Regions from separate parts of the Homo sapiens genome. Here region 2 is linked to region 1. The links are contacts of gene promoters, found by promoter capture Hi-C in blood cells and fetal thymus (Javierre and others, 2016). All regions are on one chromosome and are shown on one strand. The core of a region is centred on a gene start or on the middle of the fragment in contact, and the rest is flanking DNA. Distances in the headings are between cores, read along the strand shown.

Region 1 (7,244 bases), core at 2,655-5,154:
ACATTATATCTTATTCAGGCATGAATTATGCTAAGTGAAAATCACAGTATCCCCCAGGAAACCTAAATTCCTCCTGTGGTGCAGGATACAGTGCTTGATGGTCCTTTTTCTTTGTTTTCTCTTTATTTTTATTTTTTTGAGATGGAGTCTTGCTTTCTCACCAGGCTGGAGTGCAGTGGCACGATCTTGGCTCACTGCAACCTCCGCCTCCCGGGTTCAAGCGATTCTCCTGCATCAGCCTCCCCAGTAGCTGAGATTACAGGCGTGCACCACCACACCCAGCGAATTTTTTTGTATTTTAGTAGAGACAGGGTTTCACCATGTTGACCAGGATGGTCTTGATCTCTTGACCTCGTGATCCGCCCACCTTGGCCTCCCAAAGTGTTGGGATTACAGGCGTGAGCCACCGCACCTGGCCTTTTTTTTTTTTTTCCTCCCCTGAGACAGAGTCTCTCTCTGTCATCTAGGCTGAAGTTCAGAGGTATGATCTCGGCTCACTGCAACCTGTACCTCCTGGGTTCAAGCAATTCTCCTGTCTCAGCCTCCTGAGTAGCTGGGATTACAGGCGTGAGCCACCACGCCTGGCTATTATTATTTTTTTTTTTTTGTACTTTTAGGAGAGACGGGTTTCACCATGTTGGCCGGGCTGGTCTTGAACTCCTGACCTCGTGATCCGCCCGCCTCGGCCTCCCAAAGTGCTGGTATTACAGGCGTGAGTCACTGCACCTGGCCAATGATCCTTTTTTTTTTCTTTTCTGTTTGAGGTGGGGTCTCCCTCTGTTGCCCGGGCTGGAGTTCAGTGGTGCAGTCATTGCTCACTGCAGCCTCAACCTCCTGCGCTCAAGCGATCCTCTTGCCTCAGCCTCCTAAGTAGCTGGGACTACAGGCGTGTGCCACCACGCCTGGATAATTTTTTTATTTTTAAGTTTTTCATAGAGACGGGTCTCACTATATTGCTCAGGCTGGTCTCGATCTCCTGGCTTCAAGTGATCCTTCTGCCTCGGCCTCCCAAAGTGCTGCAATAACAGGCGTGAGCCACAGTGCTCAGCGGTCCTTTTTCTTGAACCCTGATAGCAGTGACACCAGGATTGCTGTAGTTCATCCAATGACTTGGGGGCAGGAGTGAGTGCAATCTTAGAGACTGGGGCTTAGTACCCAGAACCTGTTTCCCTTCCTCGTTAGATATTCCTGTCTTTTTACAAATGTAAATGTATTATAAAACATTTCAGGCCGGGCGCAATAGCTCATGCCTGTAATCCCAGCACTTTGGGAGGCCGAGGGGGGCGGATCATTTGAAGTCTGGAGTTTGAGACGAGCCTGACCAATATGGTGAAACCCTGTCTCTACTAAAAATACAAAAAAAATTAGCTGGGCATGGTGGCGGGCGCCTGTATTCCCAGCTACTTGGGAGGCTGAAGCAGGAGAATCGCTTGAACCTGGGAGGTGGAGGTTGCCGTGAGCCGAGATTGCACCAACTGCACTCCAGCCAGGGTGACAGAGCAAAACTCTGTCTCAAAAAACCAAAAAAAACCAACAACAACAACAAAAAAAAACACCAAAAAACATTTCAGACGTTCAAGATTATATACCAAGAACACCAATGTCCCCATCAGCCAGCTGAGGAAACAGGAAACAATATGTACTAGATAGGACCCACTTCAGCAGCACCCTAAATCCATTCCCCCAGAAGTAACCAGGAGGGCCGAGTTCCTTGTGTCTTTCCCTTTCTTGAATTTGTATTTTTACTACCTTGGTATTTGGTTTTAAAGTTTACATAAACAGGATCTGATTTTTCTTCCACTCAATTTAAGGGAGGTTCGTGGTGTCTTATCTATAGCCTCTAATTCGTTTCTCACTCAAGCCCTGTACAGCCAGATACTGCTGTTCTTTGGCTGAGCCTCAGGTAAAATGGTTGGCTCTCCAGTCCTTTATAGAAAATCATGGCAGGAAGGAATGGGAGAGAAAACAGATTCTGCCTCCCAGCTCCACGTGAGGAAGAGTTTTATTATTAATTTTTATTTTATTTTTTTTGAGACGGAGTCTCCCTCTGTCGCCCAGGCTGGAGTGCAGTGGCACAATCTAGGCTCACTGCAACCTCTGCCTCCTGGGTTCAAGCGATTCTTCTGCTCAGCCTCCCCAGTAGGTGGGACTACAGGCGCGTGCCATCATGCCTGGCTAATTTTTTTTTTTTTTTGTTATTTTTAGTAGAGACGTGGTTTCCCCATGTTGGCCAGGCTGGTCTCAAAACTCCTGACCTCAGGTGATCCGCCTGCCTCAGCCTCCCAAAGTGCTGGGATTACAGGCATGAGCCACTGCGCCCGGCCTATTATTATTAATTTTAAAAATAGAGATTGCAGTCTTGCTATGTTACCCAGTGTGGTCTCAAACTCCTGGCCTCAAGCGATCCTCCTGCCTCGGCCTCCCGAAGCACTGGGATTATAGGTGTCAGTCACAGCGCCTGGCCAGAAGAGTTTTCGAGGGCTGGCTTTTCAGGTCGTTTTCTGGGCCTCAATGTCTATTTCTGACAATGTGGGGAAAAGAAAGATCAGATTGTTACTGTGTCTGTGTAGAAAGAAGTAGACATAGGAGACTCCATTTTGTTCTGTACTAAGAAAAATTCTTCTGCCTTGAGATGCTGTTAATCTATAACCATACCCTGTTATAGATGACGGGGTTCTCTATAACCAACCCCGTGCTCTCTGAAACATGTGCTGTGTCAACTCAGGGTTAAATGGATTAAGGGCTGTGCAGGACGTGCTTTGTTAAACAGATGCTTGAAGGCAGCATGCTCCTTAAGAGTCATCACCACTCCCTAATCTCAAGTACCCAGTGACACAAACACTGCGGAAGACCGCAGGGACCTCTGCCTAGGAAAGCCAGGTATTGTCCAAGGTTTCTCCCCATGTGATAGTCTGAAATATGGCCTCATGGGAAGGGAAAGATCTGACCGTCCCCCAGCCCGACACCCGTAAAGGGTCTGTGCTGAGGAGGATTAGTAAAACAGGAAGGAACGCCTCTTCGCAGTTGAGACAAGAGGAAGGCATCTGTCTCCTGCCCGTCCCTGGGCAAGTCTTGGTATAAAACCCGATTGTATGTTCCATCTACTGAGATAGGGGAAAACTGCCTTAGGGCTGGAGGTGGAACATGCGGGCAACAATACTGCTCTGTAAGGCACTGAGATGTTTATATGTATGCATATCTAAAGTACAGCATTTAATTCTTTACCTTGTCTATGAACCGTTGTTCACGTGTTTATCTGCTGACCCTCTCTCCACTATTATCCTATGACCCTGACGCATCCCCCTCTCCAAGAAACACCCAAGAATGATCAGTAAATACTAAGGGAACTCAGAGGCTGGAGGGATCCTCCGTATGCTGAACGCTGGTCCCCTGGGCCCCCTTTATTTCTTTCTCTATACTTTGTTTCTGTGTCTTTTTCTCTTCCAAAGTCTCTCGTTCCACCTAACGAGAAACACCCACAGGTGTGGAGGGGCAACCCATCCCTTCAGACAATTGGGAGGTGAGGGCCGATTGCCTTACACGGTGAGACAAGCGGCCTGACTCGTGACTATTTTTTTGGACAAATCAGGCAGCCACTGACTCCCTTCATTATGGCCTCAGCTTTATCTCTGGGCAATAAGTGTGATCCCTTCCTTCGCTGCGTCCTTTGCAGGGGCGGTGGCGCTCTGCAAGGCCCAAGGGGGCGTGGTCCAGATGACTTTGAATCCCAGTTGTCGCCCCCAGGGTCAGCCAGGAGACTAGTCAGAAGCAAACGCGCCTGCGGCAATCCGCCCGATGCCTTTGGTCTCTCTCGGGCTTCCGTCCACCCGCCCCTCCCCCGCGTTTCCATTGGCTGTAGCTCCGGCCCGGGGCGGGCGAAGAGGGAGCGAGTGGGCGGGGCCGCGTGGCGTCAGCGCAAGATGGCGGCCTCGGCAGCGGTGTTCTCGCGCTTGCGAAGCGGGCTCCGGCTCGGCTCGCGGGGACTGTGCACGAGGTTGGCGACGCCGCCCCGCCGGGCCCCAGATCAGGTGAGCGGAACGAGGGTGGCCCTCTGAATGTGGGGTCCCTTCCCTGGAGTTACGGACATATCGCCGCCCCTTGGGGGTTCCGGGACGCCTCACCTCAGGGTGCTGAATGAAACGCCGCTTGTGTTTTGGGGCCCTTCCCAACCTCCTGGGTGGTTGCTCCCCTAGGCTGGAGGCTGGGAATCCAGGTGTGTCCTTAGACCCCACCTCCCACCCACGTGGGTGCCGGAGGAGGAGGGGGTTACCGTTCCCCGTTTCAGTGACCACTCAGGTGATACTTGAGCAGGAGGGGCCTGGGACGCTGGAGTCCCAGTCTGGCCGTGGGAGTTATTTTCTCTGTGGCGTTGGTGGTGGCGAGGTAGACGTTTGGGTTTCCAATTCGACTTGCCTCCATGTTGACAGAGACCCAGCCATTCTGACCTCCAAGTCTATCACTTCTGTGCCTTAGTTCCCCAAGCCCCAGACAAGTGATTGCCCTTCCCCGCCTCCGCTCCTATCCCTTACCCTATAACTCTGCTACTTTTAGCCCCAAGCAGCCGGACGTCGTAACTCCCGGTTCTGTCTGTACCCCTTCCCCCACCACTTGTGCCCTCCGTTCCCTCTCATCCCAGTGTTTAGGCCCTCCCATCCCTTATTCTCCGTGCTTTGCTTTTCTGGGCTGCAGACCCTCCAGTCCTGTTGCCTTCAGGATCCTGTGCACCTGGCCTGTTAGCTTTTAAAACTCCTGGCATCCTGGTGCGGGACAGTCTGGTTTTGACCCTCTGAGCAGCCCCACATCCTGACTGCTACTCCAGGGACACAGATGTCCAGGGCTCTGTGGGTGTCTGCCTCTTGGCTCCTGAACTTGATTCTTCTTGGACTGGAGGGTGGGGACCATCCTGACCTCTCTTCTCTCTTGGCTGACCTCCCCTTTCTCAACCGCAGGCCGCAGAGATCGGGAGCCGCGGGAGCACTAAGGCGCAAGGGCCACAGCAGCAGCCGGGCTCAGAGGGTCCCAGCTATGCCAAAAAAGTTGCGCTCTGGCTTGCTGGGCTGCTTGGAGCTGGTGGGACTGTGAGCGTCGTCTATATCTTTGGTGAGGGACATATCCCTGTCCCCCAGTTTTGTTCCTTGGCCTCCCTGGTCCACTGTGGAACCTCCCACTCTTGCCCACTACCAGCTTCTCTCGTCTTCATTCCCTGGCTCCTTCCTCAATAGGGCAGCCAAATAAGACACCTACCTTGAAAACCAGGGAAGTCTTCTTTCTTCTCCCTTCCACTCCTTAAGGTTCTAGTCTTTCTAGTTGGTTCCTGTACCAGGATAAAGGAAAGAGGGGAAGATGGGGAAGGATAGGCCTGGATCAGCTTCCTAAACTTTGTCTTTCCTCAGCAGCCAAAAATCCAGCCTTCCCACTAGTTACTTTAAATCCCACAGACCCGGCCGGGCACGGTGGCTCACGCCTGTAATCCCAGCACTTTGGGAGGCCGAGGCGGGCGGATCACGAGGTCAGGAGACGGAGACCATCCTGGCTAACACGGTGAAACCCCATCTCTACTAAAAATACAAAAAAAAATTAGCCCGGTGTGGTGGCGGGCGCCTGTAGTCTCAGCTACTCGGGAGGCTGAGGCAGGAGAATGGCGTGAACCCGGGAGGCGGAGCTTGCAGTGAGCCGAGATCGTGCCACTGCACTCCAGCCTGGGCAACAGAGCGAGACTCTGTCTCAAAAAAAAAAAAAAAAATCCCACAGACCCAAAAGACCTAGCCCCAGCCCCATTTCTCTCAAAGACCCAGGAATCTTGGCTCCCAGCCCCCTCCTGGCTTGACTCCAGGAGGCTGTGCCTCTCTCTTTCCTCAGATCCAGGAGTCCAGGCCCCTTATCCCACTCCTCCCTCGGGACCCAGGGGACTGGGCCCTAATTCCTCATATTCATCCTGGTCTCCCTTGCAGGAAACAACCCGGTGGACGAAAATGGTGCCAAGGTGAGGGGGAAAGAGACCGAGGCCTTGCCAGGAGTCCTAGTCTGTGGGTGAGAGGGGTCCCCTTTGGTCTGTTCAGGCACATTGCTGGTCTGGAGTGAGCCTTTCTTTCCCAGTGACCTTTGCCTGTTCCTCTTGGGGTCCTGGAGATTCCTTTTCTGTATGTGATGGGGTTCTGCCTCTGACATCCTAAACCTTCCATTTTTCTCTCTACCTCCCAGATTCCTGATGAGTTCGACAATGGTGAGTAAACAAGCACAGATTCTGGAGTCCCTGACCCTCTCAACTCTGTCATTTGTAAGGATGTCTCTCTCCCCATCTGGTGTCTCCGGCCCCTCCTCCTTCCACTGGGGAGGTGGGGGAGCCAGCAGCTGGATGGCTTTGTGGGGAGGGACATTACAAAGCCCAAGCCCACTTCCCTGGCCCCTCAGCCCCGAGCAGATGGTCAGAGACAGATGGGGGATTGGAGCCTTGGGTGGGAGGGCTTGGGGACACAGGGTGGCCTATCTCCAGACACATGGGTTCCTGTGCCTTAGACCAAGCATCTGCGGTTCCCAACTCCTTCCCCATCCCCCTCGAGCCCCTACCCCATTAGGCTCATTTTCAAAACTATGCCGCCTTCCTCTCTCCCCTTCTGGTTAACCAGCTTTTGGTGGTGAAGTAGATGACAAATTGGATAGTAGAGAGTAGCTGTCAATCCTGTCACACCTGGCTCTTCCTAGGAGAAAAATGAAATTGGTGGGTCCAGAAAGCCACCTGTTTATGCTGGGGGATGTTTGCAAACAGTCATGTTAATACATTGATTGTTTCAAACTGGGCAGTTGTAGAATCATGCTGGCTTCAACAAATCAGTATGCTGATTTAAATTGGGCAGGTACATCTGCAGTTTTAAAGTGTATATGTTTACTAGCCTAACTGGTTTCAATATTGTGGTTTATTTTTATTTTTATTTTTTTTTGAGACATAGTCTTGCTCTGTTGCCTAGGCTGGAGTGCAGTGATGCAATTTTGGCTCACTGCAACCTCCACCTCCTGGGTTCAAGCATTTCTCGTGCCTCAGCCTCCCGAGTAGCTGGGAGTACAGGCGCACACCACCACACTCAGCTAATTTTTATAGTTTTAGTAGAGACAGGGTTTCACCATGTTGGTCAGGCTGGTCTCGAACTCCTGACTTCAGGTGGTCACTCGCCTCAGCCTCCCAAAGTGCTGGGATTACAGGCTTGAGCCACCACTCCTGGCCCAATATATTGTGTTTTTTTTAAGAG
Region 2 (6,960 bases), core at 1,042-3,541, 180 kb after region 1:
TACAAGGGATGTGAGGGACCCTTTCAAGGAGAACTACAAACCATTGCTCAATGAAATAAAAGAGGATACAAACAAATGGAAGAACATTCCATGATCACGGATAGGAAGAATCAATATCGTGAAAATGGCCATACTTCCCAAGGTAATTTATAGATTCAACGCCATTCCCAACAAGCTACCAATGACCTTCTTCACAGAATTGGATGCTACCTGACTTCAAAGTACACCACAAGGCTACAGTAACCAAAACAGCATGATACTGGTACCAAAACAGATATATAGACCAATGGAACAGAATGGAGCCCTCAGAAATAACACCACACATCTATAACCATCTGATCTTTGATAAACCTGACAAAAACAAGAAATGAGGAAAGGATTCCCTATTTAATAAATGGTGCTGGGAAAACTGGCTAGCCATATGTAGAAAGCTGAAATTGGACCCCTTCCTTACACCTTATACAAAAATTAATTCAAGATGGATTAAAGACTTAAATGTTAGACCTAAAACCATGAAAACCCTAGAAGAAAACCTAGGCAATATCATTTAGGATGTAGGCATAGGCAAGGACTTCATGACTAAAACACCAAAAGCAATGGCAACAAAAGCCAAAATTGACAAATGGATCTAATTAAACTAAAGAGCTTCTGCACAGCAAAAGAAACTACCGTCAGAGTGAATAGGCAACCTACAGTATGGGAGAAAATTTTTGCAATCTACCCATTTGACAAAGGGCTAATATCCAGAATCTACAAAGAACTTAAACAAATTTACAAGAAAAAAACAAACAACCCCATCAAAAAGTGGGCAAAGGATATGAACAGACACTTCTCAAAAGAAGACATTTATGCAGCCAACAAACACAGGAAAAAATGCTTATCATCACTGGTCATTAGAGAAATGCAAATCAAAACTACATTGAGATACCATCTCACACCAGTTAGAATGGCGATCATTAAAAAGTCAGGAAACAACAGATGCTGGGGAGGATATGGAGAAATAGGAACGCTTTTACACTGTTGGTGGGAGTGTAAACGAGCTCAACCATTATGGAAGACAGTGTGGCCATTCCTCCAGGATCTAGAACTAGAAATATCATTTGACCCAGCATCCCATTACTGGGTATATACCCAAAGGATTATAAATCATGCTACTATAAAGACACATGCACACGTATGTTTATTGCAGCACTGTTCACAATAGCAAAGACTTGGAACCAAACCAAATCCTTCAATGATAGACTGAATTAAGAAAATGTGGCACATATACACCATGGAATTCTATGCAGCCATAAAAAAGGATGAGTTCATGTCCTTTGCAGGGAGATGGATGAAGCTGGAAACCATCATTCTGAACAAACTATCACTAGCACAGAAAACCAAATACCGCATGTTCTCACTCATAGGTGGGAATTGTACAATGAGAGCACTTGGACACATGGCAGGGAACATCACACATGGGGGACTATCATGGGGTGGGGGGCAGGGGGATGGATAGCATCAGGATAAATAATGTAAATGACGAGTTAATGGGTGCAGCAAACAAACATGGCACATGTATACCTGTGTAACAAACCTGCACATTGTGCACATGTACCCTGGAACTTAAAGTATAATAATAATTTTTTTTAAATCTCACCTTTCTCCCAGAATCTGCAGAAGAAACAGTCTCCCTCAAACTTTGATTTACATGGACACCAACAGAGGGTGTAGCTAGAGCCCAAGTGTGTGACAGTCAGATGAAAGTGGCCCTTACCTAGCAAAGCCAAGTGGCTTAGTGTGGGGCAGGTTCATGCAAGAAATTTCTCTACTTCTCTCTGCAGATCCTCCTCAGGATCAAGGTCAGTGCTCTCCCAGAACATTTAAAGGCAGAGAGAAGAATTACCTTTTAGGGCTAACTTGTTTCCCCCAAAATCTCCAACTTTTTTTTTCTTGTTTAGCCATTGTACAAAATTGGGAAAATGTACACCTTCTGGGTAGATTCTGCATAGTGGAGAAAAGGCTTGAGAGGCACAAAGGCTGGGCTTTACAATCACTACCCCTCACTCCATCATCCTTATCTATGCATTTCCCTGGTAACCCAATCCACAGTCTGGTACCTTCCCCAATGTCATTTCTGCTGCATTACAGACACAGACTTGCAAATAGTTATGGTTGTGACTGAGTTTCTTCGTGACACCTGACCCTTTCTCATGCTGCAAGGAAAGCTTGCTGGGAGGAGCATGGAATCTGGAATGATGCCAGAGGGCAAAGCTGAAAGGGGTCATTTAAGTGCTGCAACTCAGAGATTCACTCAGAAGACTGGACACAATTCCGAAGGTCGCCCAGAAGGAGAGGACAATGTCATTTCTAACTGTGAGTTGAAAAGGCACAGCCTTCAATAATCTCAAGTCACACAAAACCAAGAAAGATGTGGGGTATTTTATGAGATGAAAATATGAGCATTCCTACTGTGAATGCTTTACTGAGAGTTGTGGGTGTGTGGAAGAGAAACACTGAGGCTGGGTATCTGAGATGCTTGTAGCATGTGGGTTGTGGATCCTGGACAAATGTAACCCTCTGTGAGCATGAGGTGGTATCTGATGAGAGTGAACTCTGATGAGATGATGTGACTTTAGGTGGGAGGTGGATGGCACACCAGGTCAAGCAGGTGTTTGTGTGAGTGTAAGGGGGGTGATTGTACTTTGTCTTCCTCTTTGTGATGTGAGTGTGTGTTAGCACAGCCAGACCAGTGCATGGTCATCTTTATGTGCGCAGTGAGCAGGTGTGTGTAACTCAGTGAGTGGCATGGCTCTGTGTGACTGTGGGTGTGTGTGCTGGGATGTGACTGAGTATTGAAGGGAAAACACGCATGTGGCCTTCTGTGCATGTGAAGGTTCCTCCCCACACAACAGCACTTCTGATGAAGGAACTGTGTGTCTTTTCATGTGTGGCAATGTGGATCCCAGGTGGCTTAACTGGTAGGGATCTTGGAGATTGTGAGTTACCAAGGACTTGTTTCAGATCACTTATGAGAGCAGAATGTATGATCAGTAGATGTCTCTTCCCAGTAAGAGTGGGGAAGAGGAATGGAGACTATGGGGGTGATGGATCCTCAGGTGGGGTCTGCACAGAGTGACCACTGTCTCTTGCCTCCCAGGCTCAGCTTCCCTGTCCCCAGCCTATCCTGTCCTTTTCATTGTGGGACAGGAGGTTTGCTAGAGAAGGATATTAGAGGCCATGGTTTCAGAGACTGAATCACGTAAAATATCCACTGTAAGCTATGTCTCAACTGAGTCTAAACTTGTTCCTCCACCCATGAAGGAACAAGTCTAGTCTCAGTTCAGACAGAGCTTACAGTGGATATTAATCAACAAAGCAGCTGGGTTCACTGGCTCACGGCTATAATCCCACCAATCTGAGAGACAAAGATGAGAGGATAACTTGAGGCCAGAAGTTTGAGGCCAGTCTGGGTATCATAGTGAGACCCTTTCTTTAAAAAACTTTAAATATCAGACTGCCAGAGTGGCAGGCACCTTTTGCCCCAGCTACACAAGAGGGGGCAGATGTGTGAGGATCACTGCAGCCCAGGAGTTCAACGTTTCAATGAGCTATGATCGCACCACTGCATGTCAGCCTGGGCAACAGAGCAAGACCCTATCTCAAAAATACAGAAAAATCATCAACCACTTGTAGTCATTGTAGAAATCAATCATTCCCTCCAGTTATGTCCCTGACCCACAGGCTTCACTTGTGCAAGTACTGGGGCTGTGCTGTCAGTAATGTGTGCCACTTCTTGGAAGGACGTCCATTGCCCTTGATGATTGTGAGAGTTGAAAATAAGGCAGATCAGTGTTTCAGGAGGACTCCCCTGTTCTGTTAGGTCACCCCTAACAGGCCCTACACATGCCAGGGATTAGGGTAAAAGTTTTACATGTATTAACTGCTCTATTATGGAGAACTTCCTACACAGTAGGAATTCATGATAATCCTCCTTGTTTTAGGGAAACTGAGGAAGTCAAGTAACCGATCTAAGATTGCACTGCTAGTAAGAGGCAGAATGAGGACTGGAATCCAGGCTTCTTGGCTCCTGAACCCTTGCTCTTACCTATGGGTCCACCATACCTTCAGGAATGTGGGGCCCTGACTGTGGTAGAGTGAATGGGGAGAGTCCACAGAGCCTGCCCTGTGATCTCTAACCTCCTGCACCATGGGAATATGTTACAGGAAGGGAGACTGCACCTGACCCTGCACCTCTCACTTATTCTCAATACCCTGGCAGGTGCCATACAAACTGCCTGTGTCTTTGTCTGTTGGTTCCTGCGTGATAATCAAAGGGACACTGATCGACTCTTCTATGTGAGTACTCCATGGTCCAATGGAGGGGGTGGAGGAGAAAGGAGAATATTTGCTAAGAGTTTGACCTTATGTGTGGGTGATGTGGAAATGTCTAATTGGCAGGATGGAGGCCCCATGCAGGTGCAGGTCCTGGAGACCCTCCAGCACCAGGCATGAGACCTGCAGCAACTGCATGTGGGCCAGCCATGGGGCCTAGGGGAGGAGAATACTCAGTGGGTTGGGACTGTGGCTCTTTATCAAGGGGCATAGAATTTTCAGGGAATGAACAAGTCACAGGCCCAGGTCAGTGACTGTGATTCAGTTTTCATCTGGGGATGAGGGGCACAGCATCTCCCTGCAGGGGGCACGAGGAGCTGAAGCATCCCCACAGGGACCAGGCCTGCAGTATCATCAGAGAGAATTTTACCCTGGGTAAATGGGGGAAGGGATTTGTGTGCGTGTCAAGTGTGTGTCTGTGCAATGAAGGAACCTGTCCAATATGCTGTGTGCTTTGCCCTCAGCAACGAACCACAGCTGCAGGTGGATTTCTACACTGAGATGAATGAGGACTCAGAAATTGCCTTCCATTTGCGAGTGCACTTAGGCCGTCGTGTGGTCATGAACAGTCGTGAGTTTGGGATATGGATGTTGGAGGAGAATTTACACTATGTGCCCTTTGAGGATGGCAAACCATTTGACTTGCGCATCTACGTGTGTCACAATGAGTATGAGGTGAGCACCCCAGGAGCTCGCAGTACCCAGGCTCTTTGGGATCCCAGAGCAGGAGTCAGCTCTCATTGACCTGGCCTCACCAGTCCCTCAGGGCCCATCTCCCGTAACTACCCCTGCCCCAGGTTTTCATCACAGAGCACCCTCTGCTTGCACTGCCGTCCTCAGCTCTTTCCCAAATCTGACCAAGGTCAAGGTCGGCTCATCTTCCATTTCCCCCAAAGTGGAGAATCTCCTCTGTCTTTTCACATAGTGCTCATTTCTACTTATGCCATTATTTAAATTTTCATGTAGCTGAATGAATACAATATACTTAAGAAGAAAGTTTTTTCTATCAATCAAAAATTATGTCTTCGTCTCACTTTTGGGCCCCAATTCTACTCATACGAATAACATTACCAGAGCTCTGCTCTCCTTCAGAGAGAATCCTTTTTCTTTTTTTTTTTTTTTGAGACAGAGACTCACTTTGTCATCCAGGTTGGAGGGCAGTGACGTGATCTCAGCTCACTGCAACCTCCACCTCCCAGATTCAAGCGATTCTCTTGCCTTAGCCTCCCAAGTAGATGGGATTACAGGCTGATTTTTTTATTTTTAGTAGAGACGGGGTTTCACCATGTTGGCCAGGCTGGTCTTGAACTCCCAGCCTCAAGTTATCAACCCAATTCAGCCTTCCAATATAGTGGATTACACGCATATGCCACCGTGCCAACCCCTTCAGAGGAAATCTTTGCCTATGGAAGCATATAGATATGTCTATGATTTCATTTGTTTTTAAGTAAATCCTGGTATGTTGCTCTACACATTATGCTTTAGGAACTAAGTTGGTTTTTCATCAAAGAATATATCTTGAAGACATTATCAATCCATGTTTCTGCTTCAATTGTTTATTTGGGCATTGAAGTTGTTTCCAGTATTTTGCTCTCACAAATGATGCTGTATTAAGCTTTCAAATAAATCCTTTTGTCATTACCAACCTCCCAATACTTACATTGCGATATAATTACAAAAAATGAAAAAACTGGTTGAAAAATATGTGCATTTTAAATTTGAAAAATTAATACTAATAAGGTGACTCTCTATACAGCCTCAATATAAGGAATACATCCATACTTTCTTACTTTCTCTAACGAGTAGGCCAAAAGATTCACATCTTATTCAGATTCAAGTGAGGGATCTTTTCCTATGCTTAGAAGTTGTCGAAGATAATATCCTATGTTATACAAGACCTGTCCTCCTTTAACTCTCTAAGAACACTGGGTTTCATTCTTTGCCATTAACACCTCAGATGTAGGCTACTCCAAAGAGGAACTGTGCCATCAGTAGTGAAAGACAGTCACAGTTCATGGAACTGAAAAGTATGCATTTCAGTGAACATGGTCTCGCACTAACCCTGTGGCAGGTCCTGTGCGAGATGCAGGGTCTCAAGTTCCTGAGACACAGTTGCTGGTAATGGGGTTGTCCAGGTTAGAAGGGAGGCTGAATAAACAGGGACTGTGTGACACAGAGTGTAGAACTTCACTAGATAAGAGGAAACATTAGAAATAAGGTCAGCAACTGTCTCAAATAGGCACAAAATGTCATCTGTAAACAGAAGTGTATCTACAACATTCGCTTGTATAACTAGGAGTTTTCTTGGGGAATGTTATTGGTACTAGGGCAGAGTAGAGAAGAGGCTGAAAACTTGTTGGGTGGCATACTGTCTTTCTGATGCATTTTTCCTCTTAAAGGTAAAGGTAAATGGTGAATACATTTATGCCTTTGTCCATCGAATCCCGCCATCATATGTGAAGATGATTCAAGTGTGGAGAGATGTCTCCCTGGACTCAGTGCTTGTCAACAATGGACGGAGATGATCACACTCCTCATTGTTGAGGAAACCCTCTTTCTACCTGACCATGGGATTCCTAGAGCCTG

What was found. The method cuts DNA at HindIII sites, captures the fragments that hold promoters and counts their contacts. A CHiCAGO score of 5 or more calls a contact.
Region 2: the fragment with the promoter of LGALS16 here is called in contact with the fragment with the promoter of TIMM50 in region 1 in 2 of 17 cell types (non-activated CD4 T cells and naive CD4 T cells); the score reaches 9.3 in non-activated CD4 T cells.

The regions. Positions count from the first base shown.
Region 1 is chr19:39,476,934-39,484,177 of GRCh38, forward strand. It overlaps TIMM50 (translocase of inner mitochondrial membrane 50), which reads left to right and starts at 3,905. Exons shown (of 11, transcript NM_001001563.5): 1 at 3,905-4,028; 2 at 4,950-5,100; 3 at 5,952-5,983; 4 at 6,202-6,223. The coding sequence starts at 3,921. LOC124904718 (a long non-coding RNA gene) reads left to right here and starts at 6,231. Exons shown (of 2, transcript XR_007067257.1): 1 at 6,231-7,244. RefSeq lists enhancers at 3,593-4,187, 4,308-4,357. The HindIII fragment of the contact is 24,447 bases long and covers 1-7,244 here.
Region 2 is chr19:39,653,622-39,660,581 of GRCh38, forward strand. It overlaps LGALS16 (galectin 16), which reads left to right and starts at 2,292. Exons shown (of 4, transcript NM_001190441.3): 1 at 2,292-2,355; 2 at 4,262-4,338; 3 at 4,839-5,049; 4 at 6,774-6,960. The coding sequence starts at 2,341. The coding sequence ends at 6,899. The HindIII fragment of the contact is 3,782 bases long and covers 2,206-5,987 here.